Regions from separate parts of the Homo sapiens genome. Here regions 1, 2 and 3 are each linked to region 4. Evidence: promoter capture Hi-C in 16 types of primary human blood cells and fetal thymus (Javierre and others, 2016). All regions are on one chromosome and are shown on one strand. The core of a region is centred on a gene start or on the middle of the fragment in contact, and the rest is flanking DNA. Distances in the headings are between cores, read along the strand shown. Region 1 has its middle 4.9 kb from the start of SIDT2. Region 2 holds the start of PAFAH1B2 (platelet activating factor acetylhydrolase 1b catalytic subunit 2). Region 3 holds the start of OAF (out at first homolog). Region 4 holds the start of DPAGT1 (dolichyl-phosphate N-acetylglucosaminephosphotransferase 1).

The links. Contacts are between HindIII fragments. The CHiCAGO score rates a contact against its expected background, and 5 or more counts as called.
Region 1: a fragment that was not itself captured here is called in contact with the fragment with the promoter of DPAGT1 in region 4 in 1 of 17 cell types (monocytes); the score reaches 5.3 in monocytes.
Region 2: the fragment with the promoter of PAFAH1B2 here is called in contact with the fragment with the promoter of DPAGT1 in region 4 in 1 of 17 cell types (monocytes); the score reaches 9.2 in monocytes.
Region 3: a fragment that was not itself captured here is called in contact with the fragment with the promoter of DPAGT1 in region 4 in 1 of 17 cell types (endothelial precursors); the score reaches 5.1 in endothelial precursors.

What each region holds. Positions count from the first base shown.
Region 1 is chr11:117,172,216-117,175,433 of GRCh38, reverse strand. It overlaps a transcript of PAFAH1B2 not described here. Among named protein-coding and RNA genes, the nearest start is that of SIDT2, 4.9 kb to the left of the region's middle. The HindIII fragment of the contact is 906 bases long and covers 1,492-2,397 here.
Region 2 is chr11:117,142,985-117,146,281 of GRCh38, reverse strand. It overlaps PAFAH1B2 (platelet activating factor acetylhydrolase 1b catalytic subunit 2), which reads right to left and starts at 1,995. Exons shown (of 6, transcript NM_002572.4): 1 at 1,864-1,995. RefSeq lists an enhancer at 736-915 and a silencer at 1,466-1,785. The HindIII fragment of the contact is 2,379 bases long and covers 256-2,634 here.
Region 3 is chr11:120,208,069-120,211,721 of GRCh38, reverse strand. OAF (out at first homolog) reads right to left here and starts at 690. Exons shown (of 4, transcript NM_178507.4): 1 at 212-690. The coding sequence starts at 442. RefSeq lists silencers at 373-482, 573-622, 803-1,062 and an enhancer at 1,396-1,937. The HindIII fragment of the contact is 2,239 bases long and covers 1,153-3,391 here.
Region 4 is chr11:119,100,603-119,103,777 of GRCh38, reverse strand. It overlaps DPAGT1 (dolichyl-phosphate N-acetylglucosaminephosphotransferase 1), which reads left to right and starts at 1,925. Exons shown (of 9, transcript NM_001382.4): 1 at 1,925-2,283; 2 at 2,640-2,760; 3 at 2,935-3,148. The coding sequence starts at 2,123. It also overlaps a transcript of C2CD2L not described here. RefSeq lists enhancers at 657-1,369, 1,581-1,890, 1,073-2,272, 2,084-2,797. The HindIII fragment of the contact is 9,998 bases long and covers 1,557-3,175 here.

The DNA of each region.
Region 1 (3,218 bases), core at 695-3,194, 1.9 Mb after region 4:
TCTTGCTGTTCCCAGGTCTGCAGAACTTTCCTCAGTCCCTCTGCCCTACCCCGCACTTATGAATAGGTCCTTTCTGAGGTCTGTCCACTGGGAGAGAATGCCTTTTTGTTGGCTGCAGCAGTCAGCAAAAAAAGGCAGTGGTGTGTCTCAAAGCCAGACTTGTGAGCACACAGGGGAGATGTCGGGGCCTCAGGGATGTGATCCTGGCCTTGTGCACAGGTCCAGCTACCGCATTCCCTGGCATAATATACAAAGAGCTCAACCCTAACCGTGGCCCTCAAGCGGTCAGGGTGGGGCCATAAGGCTTATTTGACTTATATTTCCCTGTGGACCACCCTTCCTGAGCCTGAGTGTTGAATGGACCAAAGAAATGGGACCATTCAACACACAGCTGAGGAGCTTGCTGGACCCATGAGTCCAGCTCCATTTTAAGTCACAGGGGATTTATGAAGTTTGGGGTGAGAGGACAGGGAGGAAGCTTCAGGTGGCTCAGGGGTATTGTTAAAATGACCTGAAGATGGCCTGGTGCGGTGACTCACGCCTGTAATCCCAGCACTTTGGGAGGCCAAGGCGGTTGGATCATCTGAAGTCAGGAGTTTGAGACCAGCCTGGCCAACATGGTAAAAGCCCGTCTCTACTAAAAATACAGAAAATTAGGTCAGGTGCAGTGGCTCACGCCTGTAATCCCAGCACTTTGGGAGGCCAAGGTGGACGGATCACCTGAGATCAGGAATTCGAGCCCAGCCTGACAGACATGGAGAAACCCTGTCTCTACTAAAAATACAAAATTAGCCGGGCGTGGTGGCACATGCTTATGATCCCGGCTACTTCGGAGGCTGAGGCAGGAGAATCGCTTGAACCTGGGAGGCAGAGGTTGCGGTGAGCTGAGATCACGCCATTGCATGCCTGGGCAACGAGTGAAACACCACTAAAAAAAAAGAAAAAAAAATGGCCAGGGGCGGTGACTCACGCCTGTAATTCCAGTACTTTGGGAGGCTGAGGTGGGTGGATCACCTGAGGTCAGGAGTTTGAGACCAGCCTGGCCAACATGGTGAAACCCCGTCTCTGATAAAAACACAAAAATTAGCTGGGTGTGGTGGCAGGCGCCTGTAATCCCAGCTACTCGGGAGGCTGAGGCAGGAGAATCACTTGAACCTGGGAGGCAGAGGTTGCAGTGTGCGACCACAGGCCATTGTGCTCCAGCCTGGGCAACAAGAGTGAAACTGCCACACACACACACACACACACACACACACACACACACACACAAAAGACATGAAGACTGCACTCGAGCAGGATTTTGTAAGAATCACAGTAAATGGATTAGCTGAATCCAATCAAATTATTTAGGAACCTGGGAGGTAGGGAGTAGCCATGCCTATGGGTGGGAGACAGAATCAAAACAGATTTTAGTATCATGTAATGGTATAACTTTAACCCAGAAAAAAAAGATTCAAAACCAACCCCTCTGAAGGAAATGAACCTGAAGCTTTCTGTTTTCACTGTGATTATAAAAAGGGCTGTTTTTTCATTTGGTGCTTAGAAAGAATTGTCCCAGACATAAGCAGCTCCAGCAAGAGTTCAGCACTTCTTTCCATCATACAAGTTCTGTTCTTTCCCAGGGCTGCCCTTGTGTCTGGTTATCTCTCTTCCTGCAAGGACTGCAAAGACTGGATGCATGTTAGATTGGGAATCAGTTAAAGACACAGGATTTAATCTGCCATACTGGGGAAGGTCTCAAACCTGTCACATGGCTTCATGGTATTACGGAAAAAGGACGGACTTTGATGTCAAAAAGTTCTACAGTCACTGGGAGCTGCGGTGGCTCAGGCCTGTTGCCCTGGCACATAAGGAGGCGAGGCTACGTGTTTGAGGCCAACCTGGGCAACATAAAAACCTCTCATCCATTCAAAGAAAAAGAAAAAAGAAAAAAAAAGTTCTACAGTGAAATCCCTGCATTGTGTGCTTTAGGCAAACCACTTGAGCTTTCTGAGCCTTTTGGGAGCCTTGTCTGGACTTGGTCTCTACTGTCCTAAGTACTCACAGTGGAGCTAGGCTTCCCTGCATTCACCATCCTACTGTCTAAAGAACAGGAAGAGAGACAAACGAGATAAGCTCTGACCAAGTGGGCAGTACTTTCTCCTAGAGATAGGTCAGTCACTTTCCATTTCCTAAAACTGGGCTTTCACCATTCACACTGGGAAATATCTGTGATATACTCAGGCCCTGCATCTGGTTCCCTCTGGCCACGTGATGAAACCAACATCAGAGCTTTCCAGGAAACAAGGCTGGTCATCAGGTTGCAGAAAACAAGCAGATAAATACTTGACCGTCTCAAATCTCTGCCTCCAAAGATCACCGATAAAAATGAGCCAGCTCTCTTATTTCAAGAAAGCTTGGGTCTTTGGCTTAGAAATCAGAAGACAGGCGGCTGGGTCCGCGGTGGCTCATGCCTGTTATCCCAGAACTTTGGGAGGCTAAGGCGGGCCGATTGCCTGAGGCCAGGAATTCGAGACCAGCCTGGTAAACATGGCGAACCCTGTCTCTACTAAAAACACAAAAACTAGCCAGGCGTGGTGGTACACGCCTGTAATTCCAGCTACTCAGTAGGCTGAGGCACATGAACTACATGAATCCAGGAGGCAGAGATTGCAGTAAACCAAGATTGCACCACTGCACTCCAGCCTGGGCAACAAAGCGAGACTGTTTCCAAAAAATAAAAATAGAGTAGGAGCTAGACCAGCAAAGGGGTAAGAGCATATTCCAGATAGGGGGCTCCCAACTATGGGCAAAAACATAAAGGAAGCTCAGTGCTCTTGGCAGAAAAGTTCAAAGTAAAGGGTGGAAGGTTACAAATTAAAGAGGCCAGGTCATGGAGACTGTTAGATGTTACATTTAATGGCTTGGACTTGATCTTTTAACTCAGTGGCTGACAAGCAAGCTGCAGTATACTGATGTGTTATGAATCCACTATAAGCATACTGCCAAAGCTTGACCAGAATGTAAAAAAAAAAAAAAAAAAAAAAAAATATATATATATATATATATATATATATATATATATATATATATATATATATATATAAAGCTAGAATGAACCAGCAAGTAGGCAAAAGGCATAGCATAATATCAGGCCACAAATATTATATGTTTAGCAAAACATTGAAGATCTTTGCTTTATAGCTATGTAAAAACATGTCATTGGGTTAAGATTTCAT
Region 2 (3,297 bases), core at 746-3,245, 2.0 Mb after region 4:
GTCTCTACTAAAAAAAAAAAATACAAAATTAGCTGGGTGTGGTGGCACATGCCTATAAGCTTGAACCGGGAGGCAGAGGTTGTAGTGAGTAGAGATCGCGCCACTGCACTCCAGCCTGGGCGACAGACTGAGACTCCGTCACACACACAAAAAAAAAAAAAAAAAAAGAAAGAAAGACCAAGCAGAATGCAAATAAAAGGTCTGAAGAACAAGTTTTGTTAATTTGCCACAACAGACTGTACTCCAGGGGAAGCTTTGTTGTCCATTAAAGTGAGTTCTCTGGGAAGACGAGGAGTAACCGACTTGCACGATTTTCCTGCCTTTTCTATATTCTCTACTTACTATGACAATACAGCACTAGAATTTCCAAGTGCTTATACCAGCATAGTGCAATGTATTTAATGAGAAACCACGTCCAACAACAAAGCGTTATAACTTCTCCAGCTGAGTTAGATGTTTTAGTCTGAACCAGGAAAACAGATGAAGAAAGTTGAACCAAGAATTAAAAGATTTAGAGTTTCCACTCAGACCTAAGACTCTCCACTTTGTTTCAGAGGGAGTGGGTATGGTTATTCTGAAGAAGAAGGCGGCCCTTATCCTGAATGCCCGGTAGCCTCCGTGGGCTGGTGGGTGGTTCCTCCGGTCCAGCACCTCCATAATTTATGATCAAATGCCCAAGCCAACAAACTAATCCTCCCCTTCTCCCCCACAAGGAGGCAACCTTTATGTCAGAACAATGTGCCCAGAAGAAGCCAAAGACACAAGGCACATCCAAGGCAAAGACAATCTTAATTAAGCACTTTCTCCTTCCACTTTCTCCACACCTTTACCCCCGGCCCAACCCCTTCCCATAATTTCAAGCTGTACAAAATGAGGTCCTAGGGTGGATCCGGGTGGTCTTTCCTTTCTCTACGGGTAAGCTCTACAAAGAGGCGAAAGCTCCGAGTGTTAGTTCTTGTTTGTGTATAAATTCTGAAAAGCAACGCTGGCCTGCGAGCTATGAAAAGCAGAAGCATGAGTCACCACGCAACGGGTCAATCAAACCTGTAGACCAGAAGGCACGGATCTGGCAAACGGACGGTGAGCCAGGAAAAAAACATCCCCCCAAACCTCTCCGCTGACAGGTTTATCTAGCTGGCTGACCTTGGGCAGGTCACCAGCCGCTCCGAGCACATTCATGTCTAAGATGAGATGGGGGCTGGAAAGCCTTCCAAGAAATAATCCCTTCCGAGTGGTGACGGTCTATGCAACTTTTGAATAAACACATCCTAAGAGGCAACGGAGAAGTTTCTAAAGAGTTGAAATTTTTCAACAAAAGGAGGAGGGAAAAGTGCTCGGTAAAAACACAACGGAGTAACTGGTTTTGGCCTCCGACCAGACGCGAGGGGAGAGAAGAGTGAGAAGTTAGACCCCTGTGATAAAGGGAAAAGGCAGCAGCGGAGACCCGGGCAGGAGCTGCAGCGCCCAGCCGGGGCGAGCTGGGGTGCGCAAGGCCTACCGCGGGTGGGCCCGGCAGGGCAGGGCAGGGCAGGGCGGGGCGGGGCGCCCGCCGCGCTACCCTCCTGGGAAAGGCCGTGGAGGCGCCGGCCGGCGGCTGAGGAGAAACGCCAGCTTTCGGTATGGAATATCGGGAAAGGGCTCTCAGAGCGAAAACTAGCTGCGCCGGCTGCTGGGAAGCCGACGCTGGGCCCGCAGAGAAGGCGCGCGCTCGCGAGGCCCCCCCCAAGTGGATGGGGCGGCGTGGGGGGAGGGGCCGCAAGGGTGGGGGAGGGGAGGTCGCGGGCCTCTCACAATAACACCTCGCAGCCCCTTCCGACCCCCGCCTCTAAGCCACCGGTTCCCTGCGACCCTGGATGCACTCACTGAAGTAGAGGGTCCGTGCGGGCCCCAAGCGGCTGAGGCGTCGGCGGGTGGCGCGTCGGTCGCTCGCTCGGTCCCGTCGGTCCCGCTCCGGCGCGTCCCTCCTCCGGCCCCAGCACCAGCAGCAGCTCCTCCACTTCCGGTTCCCCTGCCACTCAGCCAAATGGCTTCCGGAAGTCCCGCCCCCATCCTGCCACGCCTCAGCGTGGTTCCTCTCTCCCCGCCTTCGCTCTCCCGGGCGCTGGCGGCGTGCGCCCAGGTGTCCCGCCACACCCCGTTGGGTACCCTGCTTTGTTCTCGCGGTTACCCCCATTTTGTGTGGCGTCTGAGGGACATGGGCTTCTCTCTTTACTCCAGCTGCATCTCTCAATCCTGCGTTCGTGCCACCGCAGTGTGGAGCTGGCATTCGGGACGATGTGGCGTGAAGTCACACTGACGCCATTCCCTTCACACTCAGCCAACTTGGCTTCCTCTTCCACCCATGGAATAAACCAGACTGCTGAAAGTGGGAGGGAAATAGCGGACCAAGGTTAAGGAGGCAGTACCTGACATTTATTAGTGGAATTTCTGTTTCTATGATGAATGTGGAGATTTTGGGTGACCGCCTGTAAAGGTGATACATAGGGGGATGACGAACCCCAGGCTTTTCCTTAAAAGATACATCCAGTTTAGGGGAAGACATACATATACAAAGTCAATATTGAAAAGATTATATGCTAAATAAATGCAGGATCTATAAAAGTAGAGAGGAGGGGCAAGAGATGTGCTCAAGCTTATAGCAGCGCAACGGTTGCTGGAGCAGTGCCCTGAACTGGCCCTTTAAGGATCTCAGCTCTATGCTGGTGAATAGGCAGAGCCTTCCAGGGCTCTTAAACTGATGCGGGGGTGGGGGTTGATTTTGCTGACAAAACCTGTTAAGAATACTGTAAAATCCTGGGAGCCTAAAATGTCAAGATATGTCAAGTAATTTTTCTTTTTTTTTTTTTTTTTTATTCAAGTTCTAGGGTACATGTGCACAACGTGCAGGTTTGTTACATAGGTATACGTGTGCCATGTTGGTTTGCTGCACCCATCAACTCGTCATTTACATTCCGTATTTCTCCTAATGCTATCCCTCCCCCAGCCCCGCAGTCCCCGACAGGCCCCCGTGTGTGATGTTCCCCGCCCTTTGTCCAAGTGTTCTCAGTGTTCAATTCCCACCTATGAGAACATGCGGTGTTTGGTTTTCTGTCCTTGTGATAGTTTGCTGAGAATGATGGTTTCCAGTTTCGTCCATGTCCCTGCAAAGGATATGAACTCATCCTTTTTACAGCTGCATAGTATTTCGTGGTGTATATGTGCCACATTTTCTTAATCCAGTCTATCATTGATGGACATTTGGGTTGGTTCCAAGTCTTTGCTATTGTGAATAGTGCCACAATAAACATACGTGTGCAT
Region 3 (3,653 bases), core at 1,023-3,522, 1.1 Mb before region 4:
GTGAGAAAGGGAAGCAGAGGGGTTCTTTGGAGAGAATGAAGGGGTGGGCCCTGGGGAGTGGGCAAAGAGGTGTAGAGAAGAGCCCGGCGTGACCTTGGGCCAGCTGCGTCTCCCTCCTGGGCCCGTCTTTCCGTCTGCAGGCAAGAGAGCGCCTGGGATCCCGGGGGGCTCAGGCTTGAAGGTGCCACCCCGGCGAGTGAGGGCGCCTCACCTTCTTGAAGTCGGCGGTGAAGGAGACGAGGGTGCCGTCGGGCTTGCGCAGCTCGAGGCTGATGCTGTCCGCGTCGCTGTCCGCCTGCAGGCTCTCCTCGGTCACCTGGCCGTCCGGCAGCCGCACGCGGACCCGCAGCTCGGCCGGCGCACCCGTTCCCAGCAGCGGCGCGAGCAGCGGCAGCAGCAGCAGCAGCGCAGGGCGCGCCAGGGGTACCCCGGGAAGGCGCATCCCCGGGGGCCGCTGCCGTCCGCGGCCCCGGCGCGCCGCGTGGGGGCGGGGAGAGGCGCAGGCAAACTTCGCCCAAAGTTGGGGGCTAGTTCGGGGCGCCCGGGAGCCGCTCCGCCGGGGGCCTTGGCCGCGGGGTCGCCCGCGAGGTGGCGCGGACGCACGTGGGTAGCGCTCAGCAGGGCGCCCCCGGCGGCCCCGAGGCGGAGACGGCGCTGCCCCGGCCCGGCTCCGCGGCCCCGGGCTCCAGCGCTGCGAGCCTGTGTTTTGCACTTTTCATTCAATCCCACCCCCCGTCACTTCCTTCAGAAAACAGAAACCACCAGGACCCGCCTTAAAGAGACCGCGCACCTCGCGGCCCTTAAAGGGCCCGCGGCTGCTCTCCGCACTTCGGCGTTGGCCGGGCAGGGGGCGGGGAGAGGGGGCAGCGGCTCCGCGGCTTTGTGCGAGCGGCCTCCTCGACCTCCCTCCCGCCCGGCCGCGCGGAGTCAGCGACCCAGGCGGAGTCAGAAGTTTGCTCTCCCGGGGCAAATCCCTTCCTTCCAGCAGGGGCAGGACGGGTGACTCTTCCCCCGCCCTGCACCGCCACCCCCCCCCCCCGCTTTTTTTTTTTTGGCTTGCTTTTGTGCCACGTGGATGAAATAATCGGGCTTGGATTTTTAGGGGTTTTGTTTGGTCTTTCAGTTTCTCTGACAGCGAATTTCTAAAAAGCTTCTGCAAAATCAGACCTCGCTTTGCACTCTGCCTTTTCCCTGCCCCACACTGGGAGGGTGGATCGGGGGTTCTCGCCCAGCTTTGCCACGGCCAGGTGTTAGACCTTGATGGGTCAGGTCACCCACTGGGACGCGGCCCTCAGGTTTTGTGAGCCCCTGTGCCTCTTTCCTTTTCAGTCCTGCCTCCCGTGCTTCCCGCATTCACGGCCTTTCCTCAGTCCTGCCCACCACCGCAGACCCGGTTCTTTCTCTCTATTATAGACTATGAAAATCCAGGGAAATGTTGGATTCCAGGTCACTTGGGAGAATTTCCAGGGACTCGGGACGCTGGCGCTCCACGACAGTGGCTTTCCCACAAGCCACAAGGAAACATGCGTGCCCTGCGGTGCACCCCAACAATAAGAAGGGTGAAGACCAGGAGATCTGGATTGCTGCCTCCTCTGATTAGTTGTGGAATTTAGGCACGTTTTAAAAATTCTTTGGGCTTAAGTGTCCCCGTGTGTATCGTGGAAGCTGCTCAGACCTACACTGTCCTGCCAGTCCCAGGCAAGGGAAAAAGCCCCACGAAGATGCTCAAAACCAATTGTTCCCTGACTTCCATTTTCACTTCTGTTGGGACCTTGATTACTGATGGGTGAAAACTCCCTTCTCTGCAGCCTCCTTCCCTTCTAGGGCTTCCCCAGCACAGGGCCATGTGAACTGCAGGGTCCGGCTAGAATCGGCCTCTTGCTATCATCCAGGGGCCCTTCCCGCTACCCGCTCTCTGCTGCCTAGATTTAGGACTGAAGGGAATTTAAGAGACTACCAAGTCAGCCTTTTCCAAATTTGCCTTTCCTGAAGAATCACCTGGATGCTTGTTAGAAAATAGATTCCCGAATCCCTAAACCCATGGAATCAGATTCTAGGGAAAAGAACTGAGGATTAGCATTTTTGACAAGGCCCACATGATGCTCGACATAAGTGGTTGACAGCAGGTATTTGGCAGATGTTTAAGCATAGAGCGTCTGGGCCAGACGCGGTGGCTCATGCCTGTAATCCTAGCACTTTGGGAGGCCGAGGCGGGCGGATTGCCTGAGCTCAGGAGTTCGAGACCAACCTGGGCAACAAGGTGAAATCCCGTCTCTACTAAAATACAAAAGAAATTAGCTGGGTGTGGCGGCGTGCGCCTGTAATCCCAGCTACTCGGGAGGCTGGGGTAGGAGAATTGCTTGAACCCAGGAGGCAGAAGTTGCAGCGAGCCAAAATTGCGCCACTGCACTCCAGCCTGGGTGACAGAGGAAGACTCCGTCTCTACAAAACAAAACAAAACAAAACAAAACAAAAACATAGAGCATCTGAAACAAGCAGCATCCTTCCTGGAGAACCTGGCTCCTAAGGAGTTCATCTTCACATCCGGGAGATAAGGCAGGCTGTTAGGGAATAATTGGATTAGCACAAGGATTGCTCCCCTAAGGACTCCCACTCTTAGCTGGCAACCGTTTAGACTAGAGATGCCCAGGGTCTTGAAATTGGCCTCCCGCCTGACAGGATGCTGGATCTCCATGCGGCCTTGAAGCTAGGTCTCCCACATGAGTCAGCCCACACAGTCATTAAGGGCCTCGCCCACATTTCCTAACTTCCCTTGTTTCAGGTCCTGTCCCCATCCGCCACCAGCTCTGCCCTCAGCCATTTCCCAGGCTCTTACCCCTTCTCCTCCCACAACAGCCCAGAAGTGGGCAAAGAAGCCCTGGATGTCAGATTTCTTGTTTAGGTCCCTGAGGTTTGTCTCTGTTCACATTTTGGGTTTGGAAACAAGGATGGAAGACCTCATCTCTTTCCCACCTCTTCCCCATAGTCAACTTCCTTCTCTACTTCAACCACAGATCAAACCAGATTTTTCTTTGAAAGTGATAGGGCATTTGAAATCTCACTCCATTACATAAGCCCTGCCTACCTACATCTCTATGCCTTGCTATTGATTTCACCTGACCACCTCTTCAAGCTCCAGGACAAAACTCAGGTTTCCCAGGAAGACTTTCTCGACTCCCCACCGACCTAGCCCTCTGTTCTGTGCCACTGTCTCCGGCCTCTGGACTCCAACAATAGTCATTATTATAGCAGCTCCTCCCCCATTGTATTTTGATTATGTCCAGGTTCTGTGCCAAGCATTTTACATGGATCATCTTATTTAATTTTCATGGCATCCCTCCAAAGTAGGTTCTATTCTTAGGCTCTTTTTACTGACTAGGAAACCAAAGCTTAGAGAGGTTAGGCAACATACCCAAGGTCACAAAAGCAGTAGAGCCAGCCGGGACTCAAACACAAGTCTGCCCGCCTGACCACAAAGCCCTTGCTTTGAACCACAGTAGCCTCTGCCTGTCGGTAGCCCTCACTTTCTGCCAGTCCCACTCGGGGCTCACATCCTGCGCTATCTTCTCCTGTTATCTAACGGTTTCGCGTGTGGCAATCCTGTATCCCCAGTGAAGCCGTCAGCTAGTTCAAACAGGCCAGCCCCGTGCTGG
Region 4 (3,175 bases), core at 676-3,175:
GTTTTTGTTGTTGTTAATTAGAGCCATTTTCAAGTAGAAAAGCCATTTCACATCTGATTTAGTTTGTTTGTTTGTTTGTTTTGAGACAGTTTCCCCTCTGTTGCCCAGGCTGGGATGCAGTGGCATGATCGCGGCTCACTGCAACCTCCTCATCCCAGGTTCAAGCGATCCTCCTGCCTCAGCCTCCTGAGTAGCTGAGATTACAGGCATGTGCCACCACACCCGGCTAATTTTTGTATTTTCAGTAGAGACGGGGTTTCACCGTGTTGGCCAGGCTGGTCTCGAACTCCTGACCTCAAGTGAGCCACCCACCTTCGCCTACCAAAGTGCTGGGATTACAGACGTTAGCCACTGCGCCCGGCCTCACATCTGATTTTGAGGGAAAGAAGAAACTATCTTCGGCTTAAAAACGGTCAACATGACCCTGACTCCTGGAACATGCCATAGAGGGAAGAGTGGACAAAGCGCTAGGCTATTGGAGTCCTTTCCCTAACTCACTGGTGGTGACTTCCTCTCTGACAAATGGAAATCATTTGCCGCCTAAGAGCCTGTCGGGGAATGAAAGGTAATAAAGATGCTGGTGAACTGGCTGGGCGTGGTGGCTCACGCCTGTACTCCCAGCATTTTGGGAGGCCAAGGCGGGCAGATCACCTGAGGTCGGGAGTCCCAAACCAGCCTGACCAACATAGGGAAATCCCGTCTCTACTAAAAATACAAAATTAGCCGGGCGTGGTGGCGCATGCCTGTAATTCCAGCTACTGCCTGTAATCCCAGCTACTCGGGAGGCTGAGGCAGGAGAATCTCTTGAACCTGGGAGGTGGAGGTTTCGGTGAGCCGAGATCGCGCCATTGCACTCCAGCCTGGGCAACAAGAGCGAAACTCTGTCTCAAAAAAAAAAAAAAAAAAAAAAAAAAAAAGCTGGTGAATTGTTGTTTGCAGGGGAACAGGCCAAGCAAAATGCACAGCAACCTGCAGGAGGCCAAGCAAAATGCACAGTGACCTACAGGAAGAAACCTGACTGGGAGTTCCTCAGACTCACAGGAAATCAGTTGTGGGTCTGATTCCTCTCCCTCCTCAGCTCTTTCCAGAGCCTCAGCCTGGAAATCTCCATCTCCTCCTTGTGGGAGCTAGGTACAATGCAGTGATCCACGGCCAAGCTGAAGTCTCGAGTTAAATCCAAGACCTGAGGGTACTCCCAATCCCTCAGTGAAGTGCTGCGCTGGGTTGCCGGGCAACTAACTGCTACAGCTGGGGCAGAAGGTGGGTGGGATGCTGAGAAAAAAATACCAGAATCGAGGACAAGAAAAACAGAGTGGGAGGGGCTTTTCAAGGATCTACGCTTTAGAATTTACACCATCCTTCCAAATCGTAGCTTTGTTTCCGGGAACTGAGTTGTGTTTACCTTGGCTTCCGACTATGTTGGCAACAGGTTTCCTGCAAGAAACAGGCGCGTCTCCACACCCTCGTCCCTCCTCCCCACCCCCTGCCTTTCAATAGCCATCTTCCTGGAGCCGGAGGCATCCCAGATTAAGGGAGAGGTACGGGCCCTTTAAGCTTGACCTATGGAGGCGGACGGAGCTAAAACTGACGTGGAACCGGAATGTGAGCGGTGTCAGACACGTGGTACAAGGAGGCATTCATCTTGGAACCGGGCAATTGGCATTTCCGCTCTGGGTAGTACATCTTTAACATAATGTTAGGGAAGTATCCGTTCTTGGCTGCCTTTCTTTAATTGCGTTTCCAGTACTCTCTCGGTGATTCTACTCTTGAACATAGGATGAAATTTGGAATCACACTTCTCTTCCACTTCCATCCCCACCCTCTAATGCCCATATTAAAAATGGCGGCCGCCGCCTTCCGCAGTAATGGTTGTTCAGCGAACAAGATCCGGGCGGAAACAGTAGATAGGCGGGTGCAGCGGGGCAGAACATAGGTTGCCTTAGAGAGGTTCCCCGGTGTCCCGACGGCGGCTCAAGTCAGAGTTGCTGGGTTTTGCTCAGATTGGTGTGGGAAGAGCCTGCCTGTGGGGAGCGGCCACTCCATACTGCTGAGGCCTCAGGACTGCTGCTCAGCTTGCCCGTTACCTGAAGAGGCGGCGGAGCCGGGCCCCTGACCGGTCACCATGTGGGCCTTCTCGGAATTGCCCATGCCGCTGCTGATCAATTTGATCGTCTCGCTGCTGGGATTTGTGGCCACAGTCACCCTCATCCCGGCCTTCCGGGGCCACTTCATTGCTGCGCGCCTCTGTGGTCAGGACCTCAACAAAACCAGCCGACAGCAGATGTGAGCAGCGGCACACGGGTCCGGGCAGGGGGCAAGGGCTAAGGAAGGAGTGGCTAGGGCAGGGGCGGGAACCGGGGTGCTTGACCACACGTGAAGACTCAGAACTAACCCAGGCAGCCTGGAACTCGGAGAGGTGATGAGCAGAACTTACTCGCATTGGGGAAAGGATGGGTAGGGACCCTTGGGTATATCTGGGACTCTGGCAGTGGTGCTTTCCTCCCTCCGCCCCCCTCACCACTTACCAGAATAAAAAACCGGGAATGAGAAGACCACTTTGGGTTACTGTAACACCTGCACTAGTGAGTGACCACGCCCCCTTTCCTCTTCCCCCTCGCCCCCTTGCTGCTGGGCCACAGCCCAGAATCCCAGGGAGTGATCAGCGGTGCTGTTTTCCTTATCATCCTCTTCTGCTTCATCCCTTTCCCCTTCCTGAACTGCTTTGTGAAGGAGCAGTGTAAGGCATTCCCCCACCATGAAGTAAGTGGGTTCGTGGGGGTGATTGCCTGTGGCTGGGACCTGGGAGGTACCTGAGAGAACTGGGGTTATTTGGGCTTGTGGGGAGGGGCTAAGAAATTATCAGAAAAGACAGGAATTCTTAAAAGGTGGAATGGGAGCAGGCTTGAGTCATGGACCTGCCCGAGCCTCCCCCAGTTTGTGGCCCTGATAGGTGCCCTCCTTGCCATCTGCTGCATGATCTTCCTGGGCTTTGCGGATGATGTACTGAATCTGCGCTGGCGCCATAAGCTGCTGCTACCTACAGCTGCCTCACTACCTCTCCTCATGGTCTATTTCACCAACTTTGGCAACACGACCATTGTGGTGCCCAAGCCCTTCCGCCCGATACTTGGCCTGCATCTGGACTTGGGTAGGTAGTCCTACCACTGCTGCCCCT